Linked DNA regions of Homo sapiens: region 2 is linked to region 1. Evidence: promoter capture Hi-C in human tissues and cell types (Jung and others, 2019). All regions are on one chromosome and are shown on one strand. The core of a region is centred on a gene start or on the middle of the fragment in contact, and the rest is flanking DNA. Distances in the headings are between cores, read along the strand shown. Region 1 holds the start of ASB16 (ankyrin repeat and SOCS box containing 16). Region 2 overlaps LSM12 (LSM12 homolog).

Region 1 (7,673 bases), core at 3,457-5,956:
CGAGGTGGGAGGATCCCTTGGGCCCAGGAGTTCAAGCCCAGCCTGAGCAAGGTGGTGAGATGCTATCTCTTGAATAAGTAAATAAAATAATAAATAGCCCTGTTTGACAGCCAGCCCCTCCTGCCTTAGCCTCAGCCTGCACTAAGCAGCTAGGAGACAGAGGCCTTCCATGGGCATGGGCTTGGCACTCCTCTGGGGGGAAGCGTTAATCTCCTTTTCCCAAAGAGGCTGATCCCATGGATTCCAGTTTTGTTGTTGTTGTTGTCGTCGTTTTAGAGACATGGTCTCACTCTGTCACCAAACTGGAGTGCAGTGCAGTGGTGTGATCATGGCTCACTGCAGCCTCGATCTCCTAGGCTTAAGCAGTCCTCCCATCTCAGCCTCCCAAGTAACAGACTACTGGTGCGTGCCACCACGCCTAGCTAATTAACAACATTTTTCTGTAGAGATGGAGTCTTGCTGTGTTCTCCAGACTGGTCTTGAACTCCCGGGCTCAAGTGATCCTTCCCACCTCAGCCTCCCAAAGTGCTGGGATTACAGGTGTGAGCCACAGTGCCCCACTGGATCCCAGTCTTAAGGCTGAAGTGAGTAAGTGCTTTGAGAACTCCATGTTCACTTACCTGCTGATTACAGCAGGGCCCTGTTCTAGAGGCTTTTGTGCCACAAGGCCAGGGCAAGAAGGGGCTAATTCCCCTGCACCCTGGTCCCTTCACATTCCCATTGGGTTTTTCTACCTGAACCTACCATACATTTCCTTCTCTCCCACCTTCCACTCCCTGCTAACTCCCCATCTACACTGGGATCTTCCTGCACCTAAACCCCCACAGCTGGGAGTGGCAGCATGCACCTGTAGTCCCAGCCACTTGGGAGGCTGAGGTGAGAGAATCACTTGAGCCTAGAAGATTGAGACCAGCCTGGGCAACATAGGGAGATTTCGTCTCTAAAAAAATAAAAGCTCCCCTCTGCCCTGGGCCTATTCCCCATTCTTGACACCCATGAGCCCCGGTCCCCCTGCTCAGTCCTGATCAATCCCACGCTCACATCCTGGCTTCTTGTGTGCTTCACTACCCCACAGGCTCTGAGATCCCAGAAGGCAGGCTGGGCATCTGATCACCTGGCCCTGTTCCCTCCAGGTTGAAGTCAAGGCCTCCTTTCTCTGCCCTCAGGAAGCTAACTCTACAGACAAGGGGACTGAATACAGTGGTATCTTGGGACTAAGCTGTTAGGGTACCTAGCTCCTTCAGGTCTGTGTGGCAAGAAGGCAGGGGAGGGGCTAGGCTATGACTCTTGTGTGCCTCAGGGAGGAAGGGGACACCCACCTGCCTTGGCCTCTCTTGGTCTCACCCAGCCTTGCCAGATTCTCAACCCTGGGAACCCAGCTGTGGGTGCCCAGCCAGGCCGTTGATGTGGCAATTAACACACCAAATGGGTGCCAACAGGGTTCATCAAGGCTGCATTTATAGAGGCATCTTTCTCTGAGGACCTCCAGGCTTTGCTTTGTATGATCTAATTCCTCCTCTGGGATCCCCCACCCTGGACTGCCACCAAGAGGCTGGAGCCAGGCAGAGAGTAGGTGAACAGTAGAGTAGGGGCAATGCCGGAAAAAGCCCAGGCTGCTGCCACCCACTTGGGCGGGCGGGTGGATGGATGTTTGCTCTGGCAGAGAACAGGGACCTTCGTTCAATGCACTACACATAAGAGGCCCGCCTGCCATGAGCCAAGTGCTCTGACTGCCAGGGCCTGCTCTGGAGCCCACATCCAGCATGGCAGACCCACATCAACAGCATAGATAGGTGCTTTACAGCGTGCCCCTGAGTCCTTCAGGAGTGCAGATTGGGCAGTGGCTGGAACTATAAGAGTCAGGCAATGGGTTGCTGAAGAGACCTCTCAGAGCAGGTGACCTTAGGGGTAGATCCTCAGGAAGGTGTTGAGGGAATTCTGAGCTAAGGGAATGGCCTGACAGGGAACGGTTGTGGGGAGCCGTGCGTGATGAGGATGCCTACCCTACGTGAGTGGCATGGGGCCAAACCAAGGAATTGGGGGCTTAGTTGAAAAGGGCAGGCCAGGTGCAGTGGCTCACACCTGTAATCCCAGCAATTCAGGAGGCTGACTTGGGAGGACTGCTTGAGGCCAGGATTTGGAGCCCTATTTTAAAAAAATGAAAGGACAGGTATTGGAAGGCAGCAGAAGTTTTTAAGCAAGGGAATTAACCATTTTAGACAGATCATTCCGGCAGCGGAGCAGAAGGGATATGGCCAGAGGAAGAAACACCAGGTGAAAGACTGAGTTGATCCAGGTTTAAGGCATTACATCGAGGGGCTGAACTTGAGACAGTCCCTGAAAATGTAAGAACAGGAGCTAGAACTTGCTTATGGGAAGGGCCTAGGGAGAGGAAGAAATAAAAGATCACTGGGCAAGGTGCTGCTGCAGGGCCAGGAGGCAGGACAGGCAGCGGGAGAAGGGCCAGGAGGAGCCCCAGATGCAGAGGGGACAGACCAGCCCTGCCTGCAGGCCGCTGTGCACTGAGTGAGCTCAGGGTGAGCAGAGCTTTTGAGCCCTCCCCTTCCCCAGCTTGGCAGGCACACCAGCTTGTGTGGTTTCACGGCTTCATTCCTCCCCCTAGAGGCTCCTGGAAGCACAGCTGCTTTCTCCTAAGAGTGAACAGGTCTGTGGCTTAAACATCTTAGGTCCATTCCCAGAGTTTCCAGCTCAACCCCTTGGCTCTCCTCAGGCCGGCCATGTGAGCCCCCTTAGCAGCTGGGTTAAAAAAATAAATCAAGGATGATTGAAGGTGCTGGGAGCTGTGGCTCACGCCTGTAATACCAACACTTTGGGGGGCCGAGGCGGGCAGATCGCCTGAAGTCAGGAGTTTCAGACCAGCCTGGCCAACATGGCGAAACCGACTACTAAAAATACAAAAATCGGCCGGGCGCGGTGGCTCACGCCTGTGATCCCAGCACTTTGGGAGGCCGAGGCGGGCGGATCACGAGGTCAGGAGATCGAAACCATCCTATTCTTGGCTAATACGGCGAAACCTTGTCTCTACTAAAAATACAAAAAATTAGCCAGGTGTGGTGGCAGGCGCCTGTGGTCCCAGCTACTCGGGAGGCTGAGGCAGGAGAATGGCGTGAACCCGGGAGGCGGAGCTTGCAGTGAGCCGAGGTCGCGCCACTGCACTCCAGCCTGGGTGACAGAGCGAGACTCCATCTCAAAAAAAAAATAATAATAAATAAAAATACAAAAATCAGCTGGGCATGGTGGCATGCACCTATAATCCCAGCTACTCAGGCAGCTAAGGCAGGAGAATCACTTGAACCCCAGGAAACGGAGGTTTCAGTGAGCCGAGATCACCCCACTGCACTCCAGACTGGGTGACACCATGAGAAAAAAAAAAAAAGGATGATTGAAGGCAGTTTCTACAGACTAGTCTGTCCTGCTTGGAGAATGGGGGAGGCTGCCAGGTGGCTGCAGCAGCTGAAGGCAAAAAGTGTACCATCTTTTTTTTTTTTTCTTCTTTTTTTAAGAGATGGAGAGGCAGGGGGTGGTGGCTCACGCCTATAATCCTAGCACTTTGGGAGGCCGAGGCGGGCAGACCACGAGGTCAGGAGTTCGAGACCAGCCTGGCCAACATGGTGAAACCCTAAATTAAATCTCTACTAAAAATACAAAATTTAGCTGGGCATGGTGGCGGGTGCCTATAATCCCAGCTACTCAGGAGGCTGAGGCAAGAGAATCGTTTGAGCCCGGGAGGCGGAGGTTGCAGTGAGCCAAGATCGTGCCATTGCACTCCAGCATGGGAGACAGGGTGAGACTCTGTCTCAAAAAAAAAAAAAAAAAAAAAAAAGATATAGGTCTCACTGTGTTGCCCAGGATTGTCTCAAACTCCTAGGCTCAAGCAATCCTCCTGTCTTGGCCTCCCAAAGTGCTAGGATTACAGGCATGAGCCACCATTCTTGGCCCAAAGCACACCATCTATGTGGGGTCCTGGCTCTGCCTCTCACAAACTGTGACCTTGAGCCAGTAGATTACTTTGTTAAGCCTTAAATTCCTCATCTGTAAAACAGAGATAAGACCACCCATCTCAGGGGCATTCAACTGTGATAATTTCATTTATTGTCCAAACCAAGTTTACTAATTATTGGGTGGGCTGGGAAGTATGATCCCCTGGGTGAAGGTGGATATGAATGTGATTTAAACACCGTGAAACTCTGTGCATATGTACAGAGTTATTGCTGTTACTGCAGATGCTGGGAAGAGCTGCTCACCTTCTCAGTAACTCTGCCTTGACCTCCCCTTACCTCCTGTGCTGAGGTCAGCCCTCTCTCCTCCACGTGGGCCAATGGTGGCTCCTGCCCTCCAGCCAACATCAGAGAGGCTGGAGGCACCTTGTCTTCCTCCCAGCCCTGCCCATCTCCATGACTGACCTTTTTGCGCACCCTGGACCTTGCCAACCCAAGATGCTCGCTCTAGAGATGAAGGTGGATGCAGATGCTGGGGTTCGGGGGTGGCCTCAGCTGAGGGCCTGCTGACCAACCAAAGGGTATCGGCAGGGGCAGGGGCTGGCCCTCACCCTGGGCTGGGGGTTGGGCCAGCAGCTTCTCAGCACCAGGATCATGACTCTGAGCAAACCATGTTTACCAGAGCAGCAAAGGACCTATTTATAGCCTCAGCTGCTGCTTTCTCTGGCTCACGGTGGCGGGGGCAGGGTGGCTCCTCAGAGCAAGGGAGGTAGTCGGGTCGAGGGAACCTGGCTCTGCCCAGGTGCCACTGCCCAAACCCCTGGGCCCCATCCATGGCAAGAGAGACCTTCCCCTTCACCTCCTCCATGCTGCGCTCTCTCCGCCTGCAGCAGGAGTGGCTGGAATGGGAGGACCGGCGGCGGGCGGCTGCCCAGCAGTGCCGGAGCCGCAGGTGCCCGTCAAGTCCCCGGGCCCGACTCACTAGGCCTCACCGTTCCTGCCGAGACCCAGCTGTCCACCAAGCCCTCTTCTCCGGCAACCTGCAGCAGGTCCAAGCCCTGTTCCAAGATGAAGAGGCCGCCAACATGATTGTGGAGACTGTGAGCAACCAGCTGGCCTGGTCGGCTGAACAGGGTAGGGGGCACCAGAAGAGGGCAGAAGAGGAGGGAGAAAGAAGGGGAGTGGGTGGGGAAGGGGGAGAGTCTAGGCCCCTCCTTCCCTGCAGACCACAGACTATAGCAGCCCTTTCCACCACCTATCCTAGCTCCCTCCTAAACAGAGATGAGGCAGGGTTAGCAGTCTGTATGTCTTTTAAGAATTAAAAGTTGACCGGGCACAGTGGCTCACGCCTGTAATCCCAGCACTTTGGGAGGCCAAGGCAGGCGGATCACGAAGTCAGAAGTTTGAGACCAGCCTGACCAACATGGTAAAACCCCATCTCTACTAAAAATAGAAAAATTAGCCGGGCATGGTGGTGCGCACCTGTAATCCCAGCTACTCAGCAGCTGAGGCAGAAGAATCACTTAAACCCGGGAGGCGGAGCTTGCAGTGAGCCAAGATAGCGCCACTGCATTCCAGCCTGGGGGACAGAGCGAGACCCTGCCTAAAAAAAAAAAAAAAAGAGACAAGGTCTCACTATGTTGCCCAGGCTCATCTCGAACTCCTGAGGTCAAGTGATCATCCCGCCTTGGCCTCCCAAAGTGCTAGGATTACAGGTGTGAGCCACCACCCCAGGCCCCAAGGTGAACAAGCCTTTGACACTATTAGCCATTCAAAGACGCTGAGATTTCCTTAATGGGAGTCACTCTACTTAGTTGGCCCCTGTGGTTTTATACAGCAATTAATTTTTTTATGACACATACTATGTTTTGTTACAGATTGATAAGCTGTATTAAAAGGCTGTTCCAATTTATTCTTCCACTTCAGGACTTGAATAAGCCCCCTTCCACAGGTACAGCCTGGCAGTGTTTGTGCTCAGCAAACCATGCAGAGGGAAGGCCAGTGTCAGCTGTCAGCTGGAACCAGCATCCCCACTCCCTGCCCTGCCCTGTCTTATACACCACCTCCCAAAACTATTTGCTCTCCCTAGGGTTCTGGGTGCTGACCCCCAAGACCAAGCAGACGGCACCCCTCGCCATCGCTACAGCCCGAGGCTACACAGACTGTGCTCGACACCTGATCCGGCAGGGAGCTGAGCTGGATGCCCGTGTCGGGGGTCGCGCTGCCTTGCATGAGGCCTGTGCCCGAGCCCAGTTTGACTGTGTGCGGCTGCTGCTGACCTTCGGAGCCAAGGCTAATGTGCTGACTGAGGAGGGCACGACTCCTTTGCACCTCTGCACGATCCCCGAGTCCTTGCAGTAGGTGCCTGGGGGCTGAGACAGTTTGGGGAGAAATGTGTGTGTGTGTCTCCAGCTCACAAGGCCAGAAGAGGGAACCTGACAACCACATGCAGCTTTGTGGTTCATAAAGCACCGCATATACACATCTTCACAATAACCTGGAGACACCTCATCCTACAGATGAGAAAAATGAAGCTCAGAAAGGCTTAGTAACTTGTCCAAGGTCACATCTGCTAAGCCCAGGAGGCAGAAGCCCTGTTGCTTTTTGGGAAAACTCTGTTCCAACTGCAGTCTCCAATACCCTGTGAATCCTTTGTAGCCAAACCTAGCTGTTTTTTTTTGTTTTTTGAGACGAAGTCTTGCTCTGTTGCCCAGGCTGTAGTGCAGTGGCGTGGTCTCAGCTCACTGCAACCTCTGCCTCCTGGGTTCAAATGCCTCAGCCTCCCAAGTAGCTGGAATTACAGGTGTGTGCCACCACACCTGGCTAGGTTTTGCATTTCTAGTGGAGATGGGGTTTTGCCATGTTGGCCAGGCTGGTCTTGAACTCCTGTCCTCAAGTGATCCACCCACCTTGGCCTCCCAAAGTGCTGGGATTACAGGCGTGAGCCACCATGCCCAGCCCAAATTCCTAGTTGTTTTGAGGTATTAAGAAAGATCTGGCCAGGTGTGGTGGCTCACACCTGTAATTCCAGCTACTAGTAGGTCGAGGCACAAGAATCGCTTGAACCCGGGAGGCAGAGGTTGCAGTGAGCCGAGATTCTGCCACTGCACTCCAGCGAGACTGTCTTAAAAAAAAAAAAAAAAAAAAAAAAGCCGGGCGCCATGGCTCACGCCTGTAATCCCAGCACTTTGGGAGGCTGAGGCGGGTGGATCACGAGTTCAGGAGTTCAAGACCAGCCTGGCCAACATAGTGAAACCCCGTCTCTATTAAAAATACAAAAAATTAGCCAGGCTGGGCATGGTGGCTGGCGCCTGTAATCCTAGCTACTCGGGAGGCTGAGGCAGGAGAATCGCTTGAACCCGGGATGCAGAGGTTGCAGTGAACCGAGATTGTGCCACTACACACTAGCCCCTGCAACAGTTGAGACTCCATCTCAAAAAAAAAAAGACCTATGGGCCAGATTCAGTGGCTCACACCTGTAATCCCAACACTTTTGGAGGCGGAGGCAGGAGGATTGCTTGAGTCCAGGAGTTTGAGAATAGTTTGGGCAACGTAAGTGAGGTTTTTGTCTCTACTAAAAATAAAAACTAGCCGGGTATGGTGGCATGAGCCTCTAGTCCTAGCTACTCGGGAGGCTGAGGCAGGATGATCTTTTGAGCTCAGAAGTTCAAGACCAGACTGGGAAACATAGTGAGACCCTGTCTCTACAAAAAA
Region 2 (7,673 bases), core at 2,580-5,079, 110 kb before region 1:
CTCCGCCTCCTGGGTTCACACCATTCTCCTGCCTCAGCCTCCCAAGTAGCTGGGACTACAGGCACATGCCACCACGCCCAGCTAATTTTTGCGTTTTTAGTAGAGACGGGGTTTCACCATGTTAGCCAGGATGGTCTTGATCTCCTGACCTCGTGATCCGCCCGCCTCGGCCTCTCAAAGTGCTAGGACTACAGGCGTGAGCCACCGTGCCTGGGTGAGACTTCATCTTAAAAAAATAAATAATAATGTGCCAGGTACAGTGGCTCACGCCTGTAATCCCAGCACTTTGGGAGGCGGAGGTGGGCGGATCATGAGGTCAGGAGTTCAAGACCACCCTGGCCAAGATGGTGAAACCCTGTCTCTACCAAAAATACAAAAATTAGCCAGCTGTGGTGGCAGATGCCTGGAATCCCAGCTACTCCGGAGGCTGAGGTAGAGAACTGCTTGAACCTGGGAGGCAGAGGTTGCAGTGAGCTGAGACAGCACTACTGCATTATAGCCTGGGAGACAGACGGAGACTCTGTCTCAAAAAAAAAACAAAGTAATAATAATAATAATAATACATAAAGTCAAAGTTTCCAAGAACCTACCAAAGACGTTAAGTGAGAGCCTAGTGTAATGGCATAAATCTTCTATGGGCCCTTTGTCACAATGCCCTCCTTCCCCTGCCTTATCTCATCCCATAATTCAATGAGCATTAGTTAGCTACAATAAAAAAATCTGGGCCGGGCACAGTGGCTCACGCCTGTAATCCCAGCACTTTGGGAGGCTGAGATGGGGGGATCATGAGGTCAGGAGATTGAGACCATCCTAGCTAACACGGGGAAACCCTGTCTCTACTAAAAATACAAAAAAATTAGCTGGGCGTGGTGGTGGGCGCCTGTAGTCCCAGCTACTCGGGAGGCTGAGGCAGGAGAATGGCGTGAACCCAGGAGGCGGAGCTTGCAGTGAGCCGAGATCGCGCCACTGCACTCCAGCCTGGGCGACTGAGCAAGACTCCGTCTCAAAAAAAAAATAATAAATAATAATAATAATAATAATAATTTGGGAGACATTAACTAACATCTGCCAAGTCTAATGACTTTAAAGACTGATCTACTTGGTTCATTCCTAAGTCTTTTCTACTAGACTACCCTGCCCCTGACCACAGAACATAGATGTTTTTCTTTACTTAGAAACGTTACCTAGGGGCTGGGCCAGTGGCTCATACCTGTAATTCGAATACTTTGGGAAGCCGAGGAAGGAGGATTGCTTGAGCCCAGGAGTTACAGACCATCCTGGGCCACACAGTAAGACCCTGTCTCTACAAAAAAAAACTAGGCTGGGCGCGGTGGCTCACGCCTGTAAACCCAGCACTTTGGGAGGCCAAGGCGGGTGGATCATGAGGTCAGGAGTTCGAGATCAGCCTGGTCAACATGGTGAAACCCCATCTCTACTAAAGATACAAAAAATTAGCCAGGCATGGTGGCGCACGCCTGTAATCCCAGCTACTTAGGAGGCTGAGGCAGGAGAATTGCTTGAACCTAGGAGGCAGAGGTTGCAGTGAGCCGAGATCACGGCACCACCGCACTCCAGCCTGGGCAACAGGGCAAGACTCCATCTCAAAAAAGAAAGAAAAATTAGCCAGGTGTGGTGGTTTGTGCCGGTAGTCCCAGCTACTTGGGAGGCGAGGTGGAAAGATCACTTGAGCGAACCCTGGAGGTCGAGGCTGCGGTGAGCTGTGACTGCATCATTTGCACTCCAGCCTGGGCACAGTGCGAGACTAACTAAAAAGAAACAAAACAACCACCCAGGTGTGGTGATGGGAGATTGTAGTCCCAGCTACTCAGGAAGCTTGGGCGGATCACTTGAGGCTATGAGCCAGGAGTTCGAAGCTGCAGTGAGTTATGATCATGCCACTGCACTCTAGCCTGGTCAACAGAATGAGACTATATCTCTAAAAAACAGAACACACACACACACATACACACACACACGAAACATAACTTAGCATTGTACATTATTCAGGGTACTTCATGTTGCCAAACTATGAGTTCCTTGGGCTAAACACAAAGTAATAGAAAAACAGGGGACTTGGCCAGGTGCAGTGGCTCACGCCTATAATCCTAACACTTTAGGAGGCCGACGCAGGTGGATTATCTGAGGTCAGGAGTTCAAGGCCAGCCTGGTCAACACGGCAAAACCCCATCTCTACTAAAAATAGAAAAATTAGCCGGGCATGGTGGCAGCAGGCGCCTGTAATCCCAGCTACTCAGGAGGCTGAGACAGGAGAATCGCTTGAACCGAGATCACACCGGGCAATGGACTGAGACCCTGTCTCAAAAAAAAGAATTCCCCCTACTGCAACCCTACTGTCCTCTCTCAAGCTTCCTCTTACATGCTACTGCTGGAGATAGAAATAAGACTTCTTAGCCTGAAGTGAACTATCATTCGAAAGCAAAACAGGCCAATTTCCAAGAAGTTGCTAGTTTATACCTTCCCTAGTTGAGCTATTATTAAGTATTTCCTGTATAAGCCCTTCTCTTCCATTTCCTGCTAGGTCAGAGTCAACAAATATCCGGTTTTTATCAACAGGTTTAATTAAGCAGATCACTTACTATGTCAGCAAGATGGGCCAATATGTGATGATACCTTTGACTAAAGTTAGAGTAGGCCGGGTGTGGTGGCTCAAGCCTGTAATCCCAGCACTTTGGGAGGCCGAGGCGGGCGGATCACAAGGTCAGGAGATCGAGACCATCCTGGCCAACATGGTGAAACCCCGTCTCTACTAAAAATACAAAAAAATTAGCCGGACATGGTGGCGGGCGCCTGTAGTCCCAGCTACTCGGGAGGCTGAGGCAGGAGAATGGCATGAACCCGGGAGGTGGAGCTTGCAGTGAGCCGAGATGGCGCCACTGCACTCCAGCCTGGGCGACAGAGCAAGACTTCGTCTCAAAAAATAAATAAATAAAATAAAATAAATAGAGTAGGCTAGTGCTTCTCCAGACTGCAAGCAACTGAAACTTCAACAGTTTTCTTCCAGACATCCCAGAGTACATTAGTTCCCTTCCATATGCTTAAATGATCCTCCATCTTAAGAAAAACTCAAGTCCGTGATCTTAAAAATGAGACTAACTTTTCACGTCATTCATGCAACATGTTAATAGCTGCCCGAAATAGCTGTTTTCAGCAGTAGCCCAAAAGGCTCTCTCTAATTCTAAGTCAATCTCCAAAAAGGAATCGCAAAGCATCCTAAAAGGTTGATTTCAAGGGAAAGCCAATATAGCTTACTCATAAACATCTCTGCAAACGGAAGAATGAATAAACGAAATCCAAAGATAACCCTCCAACCTAATTTTAGTTTTTAGTTTCTGACTCCTCTTCCCAGCAAACCTCTTTCAAGATTTGGCAAGCAGGCCACAGAGTAAGAAAAGTAAAGATTTCTGGTGTTCCCCAAGCTATTACTTCCTGCTGCTTTCCTCAAAAACTGGGTAATCAGCTAGTTTACAACAATGCTAGTAAACAAGGAAAACCCTAAAGGCAAAGATAATCCACAAACTAACCAAGAGCTATATCTACCTGAGGTCAAACATAAGAAGAGAACTGCTTCTTAACAGCTCCTGCTTAACAGTCCCATCCACACTACCCCACCCCCTCTAAATGGTGGCACTCATTGGTCACAAGAGCCAACTTTCTAACTTCAGAAAATCACCTCTCTTTCAGATCTTTACTACTCACTAAAGATCTAGTGACAGACTTATCATACCCTATAAACACCAAAAAATAACTCAGAGCCTATTTGGTTCTTTAATACACTAGGAATAATGCTGGGCACAGTGGCTCACGCCTGTAATTCCAGCACTTTGGGAGGCTGAGGCGGGCGGATCACCTGAGGTCGGGAGTTCGAGACCAGCCTGACCAACACGGAGAAACCCCGTCTCTACTAAAAATACAAAATTAGCTGGGTGTGGCTGTGCATGCCTGTAATCCCAGCTACTCAGGAGGCTGAGGCAGGAGAATCACTTGAACCCGGGAGGCGGAGGTTGCGGTGAGCCGAGGTTGCACCATTGCACTCCAGCCTGGGCAACAAGAGCGAAACTCCATCTCAAAAAAAAAAAAAAAAAACACCAAGGAATAAATTATTTAACAAGTCTTAAAATTTCATGAGCTTATAGAAGACACTCAAAGAGCTCCTATACTCTGGTAGAAGGTATATTACTAAGCCAAGGTTTCAAAAACCTATAAGCTTCAAAGAATGGGACATCCCATACAAGACAACACCCATATGAACTCAATAGCCTTCCAAATCTGTCCCTGGCCATCACTAAAAAATGTGTGGCATTTCCCTAGAATCTGACAAGATAGGAACTCCAGATCTGAGGTAACGACATTCACTAGCCTCAGCATCAGTTACCCTCTATTATTTTAGTTGCCTAAGTGTTTCCTTGCTTTGCTGAACTGTACAGAACACACCACATTCCCAAGAGAGGCAAAGTAATACACATTATTGCAAGATTCCTCTAGAGGGAAAAACTTCCACCACATTAATTCAAGAGACTTAATGAAAAGCACCTGCTACTAAAATTGGAGGCATCTTATTCATCCAACAAATATTTATTAAATACTCTGTGCAAGGCTCTGTATATTCAATAGTAAATAAAATAGGTATGGTCCCCATCCCTGCAGAATAAAGTTTAGTGAGACAGACACTAGACAAGTAAACAACTATGGCCAGGAGCGGTGGCTCACGCCTGTAATCCCAGCACTTTGGGAGGCCGAGGCGGGCGGATCACAAAGTCAGGAGATCGAGACCGTCCTGGCTAACACAGTGAAACCCCGTCTCTACTAAAAATACAAAAAAGTTAGCCGGGCGTGGTGTCGGGCGCCTGTAGTCCCAGCTACTAGGAAGGCTGAGGCAGGAGAATGGCATGAACCCGGGAGGCGGAGCTTGCAGTGAGCTGAGATGGCGCCACTGCACTCCAGCCTGGGCGACAAAGCGAGACTCCGTCTCAAAAAAAAAAAAAAAAAAAAAAGCTATGAATAGGGTAACCTAATCTATACCTGTTGTCCCTGTGTAAAATAAAAGCATTCCCCTTTACTCTCAAAAATGTCCCAGGTTGGACTACAAATGATATGGTCACCTTAACTGTGAAGGACAAGGTACTATGAGAGAGAATAATGCAGGCAAATTACTTCAGCCTGGGTGATCAGAGAAGACTTCTTGGAAGACGTGCCATTTAACTGAGTGCTGATGGGTGGTAAGGCTCCAGTCATTCTGGAAGGAAAAATGTTCCAAGTACAGGGGACAGCACAGGCTATGACAGGGCTTGAGGCATTATTATGATCAACTTCAATTTTGACTAAATAAACGGAATTGTCAAAAAAGTGACTTAGGGCCGGGCATGGTGGCTGACACCTGTAATCCCAGCACTTTGGGAGGCTGAGGCAGGCAGATCACTTGAGGTCAGAAGTTCAAGATCAGCCTGGCCAGCATGGTGAAACCCCATCTCTACTAATAATACAAAAATTGAGCCAGGAGCAGTGGCTCACACCTATAATCTTACCACTTTGGGAGGCCGAGGCAAGCAGACTGCCTGAGCTCAGGAGTTCAAGACCAGCCTGGGCAACAGAATGAAACCCCGTCTCTACTAAAATAAAACAAATTAGCCGGGTGTGACAGTGTGTGCCTGTCTCCAAAAAAAAAAAAAATTTGGCCAGGCGTCGTGGCACACACCTGTAGTCCCAACTACTCCAGAGGCTGAGGCACGAGAATCACTTAACCTGGGAGGCGGAGGTTACAGTGAGCCGAGATCGCGTCACTGCACTCCAGCCTGGGCGACACAGAGAGACTCTGTCTCAAAAAAAACGCCGGGCGCAGTGGCTCCAATAAAAAGAAAGACTTGGGCAGGCATGGTGACGCATGCATGTAATCCCAGCTACTCAGAAGGCCGAGGCAGGAGGGTCACTTGAGCCCAGGCGTTCAAGTTCAACCTGGGCAACAAAGCAAGACCCTGTCTCACACATACACACACAAAAGTGACTTGGGGGTTCCCAGAGATCAACTTTTATGTGCAAGATTAAAATATGCTAAGCATGTAACTGTTAGAACTCAAAATTCAAACATAAAGACAAAAAAGAACCTTTAAGACAGTGGCTTTCAAACTTTTCTAAGTCATGAAACCCTCCGAGAATCTGAAAAACACTTTAGATCTTCAAGCAGAAAATGCATATATTCACGTATGCACACATCCACATATACACAATTTGAAGACATTCATAGGTAACGCCACCACCCAAACCCCAGCAGCACTATTAGTTCATCATGAACTCCAAGATTTAAAAAGTCCTCTTTCATAAAGGCAGAAGCAAGCTCTCAACTTATTTGGGAGTTAAGCTACTTCTTAAGATCTACTGATAACATCCAGGAATAAAGAGAAAAACTAAACCTACATTTTTTAAAAAGATATCAGAACAAACAATTTTAAGTCAATTTTAAAAAATAAAAAATAGACAACAATGTATCACTAAGACTCAATGAGACTCATCTTTCCCACCATTTTAGAGAGCCAGATCTGCCCTTGAGTCCTTACCTTACTAACATTGAGTGAAGCTAGGGGAGGAGGGGTTTCTGTTCGGTCATTAATTATTTCCACTTCTGAAACATACTGTAAGTTTATGAGCAAGATGTCTGCATGGTTGGGCTTTCCACTGGAAGAGGGACATTCTGGTGAGAAAAAAAAAAGTTAAGGAAAAATAGGACAAGCAGAGGCACTGACACATCCCAAAAGGGGCATAGAAAACACGATTCACACAAGGCTTGTAAAAGGCAGGCCAGGAGCATGAGGGCCTTATAAGAATCACGGTTCTCCTCAGGAAATCTCTGCCTGTCACCTTCCTCCTGCCCAAATCCTTGGAAGCTTCCAAAGGAGTTCTGTCACTTTCTCTCTACTGGCTTTATGGAGAGGCATAATGCAGATTTAATGCGTTTGTCTTGAACCTATGAGCCAGACAAAAGAGCTAGACCTTTCTGTTCTTCGTATAATACTCTCTGTGTCTGCACAGTATTCTTTTTACTCTTTCAGATGTGAGCTTTCCCATTTTGCAGAGGAGAAAACTACACACTGGAAAGGAAATTCACCCAAGGTGACCCAGCCAGTTAATCCATTCATTCATTCACAAACTCATTCTCCAACCATTTAAGAGCCTACTGTATGTCAAGTAAAAGTTGAGTAATTCAGCCAGGCTCACGTGATGGCTCACGCCTGTAATCTCAACACTTTGGGAGGCTGAGGCGGGCAGATTACTTGAGGTCAGGAGTTCAAGACCAGCCTGGCCAAAGTGGCAAAACCCCGTCACTACCAAAAAAAAAAAAATTAGCCGGGTGTGGTGGCACATGCCTGTAATCCCAGCTACTCTGGAGCCTGAGGCAGGAGAATCACTTGAACACGGGAGGCGGAGGTTGCAGTGAGCCGAGATGGTGCCACTGCACTCCAGCCTAGGTGACAGAGCGAGACTCCGTCTCAAAAAAAAAAAAAAAAAAGTAATTCCTAGTTACAAGACCCTTCCAACTAAACCACTAATGTAAAAGGTCTTATTTCTTCCAGGTGTAACCTCTTATTTTTTTAAAAAAGCAACTATTCTTAGGCCGCGCGGTGGCTCACGCTGGTAATCCCAGCACTCTGGGAGGCCGAGGC

Evidence for each region. The method cuts DNA at HindIII sites, captures the fragments that hold promoters and counts their contacts. A contact is called where the count stands out against the background at its distance.
Region 2: a fragment that was not itself captured here is called in contact with the fragment with the promoter of ASB16 in region 1 in 2 of the 25 tissues and cell types used here (dorsolateral prefrontal cortex and mesenchymal stem cells).

The regions. Positions count from the first base shown.
Region 1 is chr17:44,165,998-44,173,670 of GRCh38, forward strand. It overlaps ASB16 (ankyrin repeat and SOCS box containing 16), which reads left to right and starts at 4,707. Exons shown (of 5, transcript NM_080863.5): 1 at 4,707-5,093; 2 at 6,049-6,316. The coding sequence starts at 4,793. The HindIII fragment of the contact is 17,920 bases long and covers 4,314-7,673 here.
Region 2 is chr17:44,057,232-44,064,904 of GRCh38, forward strand. LSM12 (LSM12 homolog) reads right to left here. Exons shown (of 5, transcript NM_001371445.1): 2 at 6,570-6,703. Among named protein-coding and RNA genes, the nearest start is that of LSM12, 5.6 kb to the right of the region's middle. The HindIII fragment of the contact is 3,461 bases long and covers 2,100-5,560 here.